2 separate regions of the Homo sapiens genome follow, and region 1 is linked to region 2. Evidence: promoter capture Hi-C in 16 types of primary human blood cells and fetal thymus (Javierre and others, 2016). All regions are on one chromosome and are shown on one strand. The core of a region is centred on a gene start or on the middle of the fragment in contact, and the rest is flanking DNA. Distances in the headings are between cores, read along the strand shown. Region 1 overlaps CDH23 (cadherin related 23). Region 2 holds the start of CDH23 (cadherin related 23).

Evidence for each region. Contacts are between HindIII fragments. The CHiCAGO score rates a contact against its expected background, and 5 or more counts as called.
Region 1: a contact is called between a fragment that was not itself captured here and the fragment with the promoter of CDH23 in region 2, in 2 of 17 cell types (megakaryocytes and M1 macrophages). The highest score is 6.5, in megakaryocytes.

The regions. Positions count from the first base shown.
Region 1 is chr10:71,542,744-71,545,510 of GRCh38, reverse strand. All of the region lies in intron 6 of CDH23 (cadherin related 23), which reads right to left. Among named protein-coding and RNA genes, the nearest start is that of CDH23-AS1, 32 kb to the right of the region's middle. RefSeq lists enhancers at 991-1,500, 2,752-2,767. The HindIII fragment of the contact is 172 bases long and covers 1,403-1,574 here.
Region 2 is chr10:71,395,602-71,398,356 of GRCh38, reverse strand. CDH23 (cadherin related 23) reads right to left here and starts at 1,437. Exons shown (of 70, transcript NM_022124.6): 1 at 1,039-1,437. RefSeq lists an enhancer at 634-1,145 and a silencer at 1,829-1,918. The HindIII fragment of the contact is 8,970 bases long and covers 1-2,755 here.

The sequences.
Region 1 (2,767 bases), core at 239-2,738, 150 kb before region 2:
ACTGAAAGTGCAAAAGACTCTTTGGGGGTAAGCATCGGGTCTCCTTATGGAGCAAACAGAAATCAGCCCCTGCAGGGGACACAGGGCAGGCTCATTGATGACGACAACCTGAAGACAGCCCGAGAAAGTGGAAGGTGCAAACTGTCTCACTTTTAATGAAACGCACGGTGGATGAGAACGGTCTAATGGGTTTCTCCGAAGGCCACTGACCTCTCTGGCAGGGACAGCTGCTCTGTCCTCCCCCTCCCCTGCCGTGGCCTGGGAGCACGGTGCCTGTCTCAATATCACCTCTCCTCTCTGCAGTCTTCTTTCCCTCTTGTAGCAGGAGCTAAAGAGATTAAATGATCAACCCCCAGGAAAGGCTGGGGTGAGCACTGCTGTCTCTTTCAAGCTATTGCATCTGGTGCTTCTGGCCTAATGGCTGTTTAGTGGATGCGAATCCCTCCTTCGACAGTAACTTACAGGGTGGACGTGGCTTTCCCCTCCTGCTACTGTCACCAGGGGTTGGGGTCGGGGACTGACTCTGTCCCCAGGGTTACCCCAGGGCACACACTGCACCAGTCACAGACACCAGACCCCAGCCACAGACCACCTCCAACCTCTAAATCTAGCCATAAAATGACTCTCTAACTGTCAAGAAATTGGAACATCATTCGATGGGCTCCTGACTGGCGGAGAAGTCAACTGAAAATGATCCGACTCCCTTTGAAGGTGGGGAGAGTTAGAAAACGGAGCACTATCTTCTTCCCCCAGATAGCTGTGGCCAAAGTTCTTTGCCTCGTGGGTCTTGTCTGTGGCATTGGTGGCTTCTACTTCATGCCTGATTGTGGGAGGGGTATTTGGGGTGTGCAGCGTGTCCCAGGGCAACGTGCCTGTGGCCCCGGGCCTGGTGTAGGTATGCTCCTCCTCTTTTCCATCCCGGTCACTAACCGGTTAACCCTCTGCCAGCATTCCCACTCCTGTGGCTGGAACACAAGGCAGAGGGTGGGAGCGGGCGTGGGGCAGGCTCTGCTGGCAGGGCTCTGATTGCCTTGCCTGCCACTGTCCAGCCCCCAGCCTACTCCCATCGCCAGCTTCGTCCACTCTGCCCTCCCCCTGGTGAGGCTGGGGGTGATTGGAACCCCTTCTGCTAGAGCTGATTAGGCCTGATTTCACCAGCCTGCTTCCACCTCTGGAAACTTCCCCTGTTATTAGAGTTGTTTTCCGCCCACTCTCTCGGTCCACTGGATGAGGAGAGTTTATTTGATTTGATTTCTACCCCCATCTCCCTTTTTTCCGCTACTCCCGTCCACCTCTCCTGCATCTGTGGCAGCCAAGCAGACCAGAGTTCGGTAAAAACCAGGAAAATTAGCTTCTAACCTCAGGAAAGAGCTATAATAAAGCCAGGTGAATAATAAAAGCTTTATCTAACATAACTCTGATTAAAAGCTCAGGCCTGCCTCCTTATCCTATCCTGCCCCACGAGGACGAGGCTGGCCCTTTAAAGCAGCTGATGGTTGAAGGGATGGAAAATACAGCCTGCTCTTGCTTCCAATTTGCTTTTTTCCATCTTTTTTTTTTCTCCTTCTCAAGCTTTGTTTTACAAATTGGGGCACTCTCTAAGAGGCCCAAGGATCCGTCTGCTGCACTTCATTCTGCTCTACAGTACTTAGCAGCTTTGGGAGAACCAAGTCACTGTGAAGCAACAGGTCCCAGCAGCCCTGGGATCCTCCACATCCCCACATGGGGTGGGGTGGCTGGTAAGAGGGTGCTGGGAGGTTCAGCTCCACCCTGGCCCCTGAACTCTATAGAGCCTGAAGGTAATCACAGTGCCCATCTGGGCCTCAGTTTCCCATCTGTCAAATGGAAAGAACCTTTTCCCTTGCTAGAGTGGCTAGGAGAAGCATGAGGACTTGTAAAATTCAGATTGCTGATGGAAAAAAAATGGTTGACTTCCTCCCTCTTAGCTTGCACTGTTATAACCAGAATCATCTATGCGGAACTGGGTGAACAGGAAATCACTTGGCATGTATTCACCCGGCATGGACAGCATCGGCTGCATATGGACCCTAATAAACATGCTGTGGGCCAGACCCTGGAGAGGTCATTACCATCAGACATCTGATCTGTGGGTGCTTTGACAGTGAGGGTAAGGAGAGAGGGGAGCTGTCCCCATCCTCAGGTCTACTACAGCAAGGTTTCTTCCAGTGCTCTCTGGATAATGGAGGTCCTCGGGGACAACAGGCCTGAGGATGAGGGTGACAAGTTCTGGACCATACTGGGCTGCAGAAGTGAAAGCCCTGCTCCAGAAATCAGACACTTGGGTCCCCACCCAACTCCCTGTACTCCTGGGTGGGGCCGGGTGCTCAGCTCTCCGGGCCTTGGTGTCCACACCTGCTGAATGGGGCCCTGGAGGAACAGCGTCTCATAAGTCTGTGCATTCGGGCTGTTCTGAGAAGTTCTGGACTTGCTAGCCTTGCATTACAATGACCTTAGAGCACTGCAACGCTGGCCTCTGGACAGGCCTAATTCCACAAGGCAAGGGCACTCCCATCCAATTCCCCTTTTTGGTGGTTGTCCCCCACTTCAAAACCAGGGGCCCACTAAAGCCCCTAGGCTCACAGAAGCCCCCTGCACGCTGCCACCCTGGAAAGGGGCTTGCTGTTCAGAGCCTCGAAGAACCCGCTCAGCCTGTGCCTCCCCCAGGGGAAGGGGTGGGGAGAGCTGAAGTGTGGCAGCCTGGAGCCTGGCCCTGCTGGCTGGGCGGGTCAGTTTCATTCACCATTCC
Region 2 (2,755 bases), core at 188-2,687:
GTCAATGTCAATGCCAGCTCTGGTCTGAGAGGGCAAAGGACGTAGAAAAAGAAGGCTCTGCTTTCTGAATTACTAGGGAGGATGGGGGAGTATTACTACCGAGGAAAGGCTAATTTCCTCCCAGTGGACCGCTGACAGCACTAGGGCTGGGGCTGGGGTCGCAGTGGGGCGGCGGCTGGCATCGGATCTCCGCTCACAGCACGGAGGCAGCCTCTCTAGGTGCCCGCTCCGAGAAAGCCAGGCAGAGTCCCCGCCGGCTGGCGCCGTCACTGCCTTGGAACACGCGGGCTCTGCTCGAGTCCTGGGCTGACCTACGGTGGAGATGAGGGGCAGTGCTCCCGGGTGCCAGCTCCTGGGGGCAGCCAGCACCGCTCGTAGCGGACCAGTTCCAGGGCCAGGAAGGCGAAGCGAGAGCCGCAAAAGGCTCCCGGCTCCTCGAGGGGCGCGTCTTCCCATAGCTGGACCGAATTTGGGAGGATGTGTAAGTCCCCTGGGGTCTCCCGCGGGCACAGGGACTTGATGAGGGGAGGGGAGAACTACGTGCCTTTAGTTCCCCTCAGCGCCTCTGCCCAGCCCGCAGTAGGGGTGCGCCCCACCCCATCCCCACTGTCCAAATGGGGACCCAGGGCTCAGAAGGGGAGGGGATTGGATCCCAACGCGCTCCACTCTCGAAAATCTCTCCACCCCAGACCTGGACCCTCTCCGTAGCGCCGAGAGCAAAGCCCCCAAATGTTCGCGGTCCCAGGACCGGGGATGGGGGATGGGATGCCTGTCCTCCCAAGGCCAACGCGAATGGAATTCGAGTTCCCAGGAATCAAAGTTGCCGCGCGTCGGGGAGCTCGGAGCGGGGCGCGAGGCTAGGGCCAGGGGCCTGGGACCGAAGGATGCCGCGAGCGCCCGCCACGGGCGATGGCCGCGCTGGGAACAAGTGGTTCGGCAGCCGCGGTCACCACCAACTTCCCCGCCGCGCGGCGGGCGAACGGCGAGGGGAAGGAGAGGGAAGCGAGGAGGGAAGAGGCGGTGCGTGGCTCCGGGTACCGTGTGCGTGTGTGCAGCGGCGCCGCGCCTCGCCTCGCCTCGGGCTCTGCTCTCCGCCGGATCGGCCCCCGCGGGCCGCCTGCTCTGGCCCTGGCCACCGCCGCGTCTTCCCGCCGGCGCGAAGGCTCATCCGCGGCGTGCCGGCAGCTCCTGGGTCTCCGCGGGCCGCTCGCCGCTCGCCGCTCGCCGCTCGCAACTTCAGGCGCGCCGGGGGCTCGGACTGGGCGCGCCCCAAACGTCCAGAGGCTCTGCCACCCCGCGCTCCATGCCCAGGCCGGGCTGACTAGCCCCGACCACCTCAGCGTCCGGCCGCCGTCGGACGCGTCCTCTAGCCAAGCATCGCGCCTGCAGCCCGCGTCCCTCTCTCCCGAGCCGCCGCCGCCGCTCAAGTCCGCGATCAACTTTCCCTTGCTTCCCCCGCCCCGCTCGGCCCCCGCCCCGCTCGGCCCCCGCCGTCCAGACCCCGCCTCCCGCAGCTCCCTCCCTCACCTCCCGCCTCGCCCGGCCCCCGCCCGCCCGCCCGCGCTCGGCGCTCCCCCACCCCTCAGGCCGCCAGGACCCCCGAGCTCCCGCCCGGCCCCGCCCGGACCCCCGGGAGCGGCGCCGAGCCCCGCCGGGCGCTCAGGGCATGAATATTTCAGTGCTGGCGAAGCTGCCCTCTGCCGATGTCATGGCACCGGCTGCTGTGGCAACTCTACGAATCCCCCAAAGGGGCAGGGAGGAAGCCCGCGGAAGAGGCCCCAGGTGCGAGACAGAGCAGTGCCCCGCCAGGCCGCCAGCCGTCCCGCAGAGGGGCGCGCAGGGGGATGGGGCCCCCAGCGTCTCGTCCGCCCCGCGCCTCAGGCAGAGCGAGGTAACGCTCCCGGGAAGCCCGGGCGGGCGAGCGGGCGCTCGGCCTAGGTGAGCCCGCGCCATCTGTTGGCTTTAAGCGCCCCCTCTCTGCTCCCAGAGTCGCTGAGCAGTCCCTCTAGTCCTTGGGGCCTCTTGGCCTACGCTTCTCTCCAACCAGCTGCCTTTGCCCACCCGACTCGTGCGCTCCCATCTGCGCCTCCTCCCTCACTAGAGCTCAAGAGGCCTCCAAGTGCTTAGAAATGGAGGACCCCGGGTTGGAGGAGACCCGTGAGGTCACTTAGGCGCCCTCACCCCTGCGGGAGCTCCGTCTGCAGTGCCCGAGTCATGGTCTCCCGGCTCCTTTTTGCACACCTATAGGGACAGAGACTTTATGGCTTTCTGAGACAGCTGGATCAAGAAAGGGTCCATATGCAGGTAATGGAAGAGGTTTATCCCCTACCTTTGATCTTTACTTCCCCGGGGCTAAGCATTCTGATTTTTTAAAACTATTTCTCACATGACAGGATTTCCGAGCTGTCACTGTTCCAGTCAGTACATTGACAGTACCTGCCTGGAGCCAGGCTCTGGGCTGAGACTTTCTGGGCCTCAACTCATTCTATCTTCAATAAAGTCTTTCTGGTGGGCCCTGCCATTATCCCAGTTTTACAGTGAGAAACAGGCTTTAGGAGGTTGGGGACTTGCCCCTGTGGTGGAGTCGGGTATTGAACCCAGAATCTATCTGGTTCCAAAGCTCCAGTTCCTTACCATTCGCTCATTCATTATTCATTCATTCATTCACAGTCACTGCTATGTGCTAGCTAACTGAAATAGTTTCTAGGAATAGGATGGAGAACAAAACAGGCTTGGTCTTTGTGCCCCATGAAGC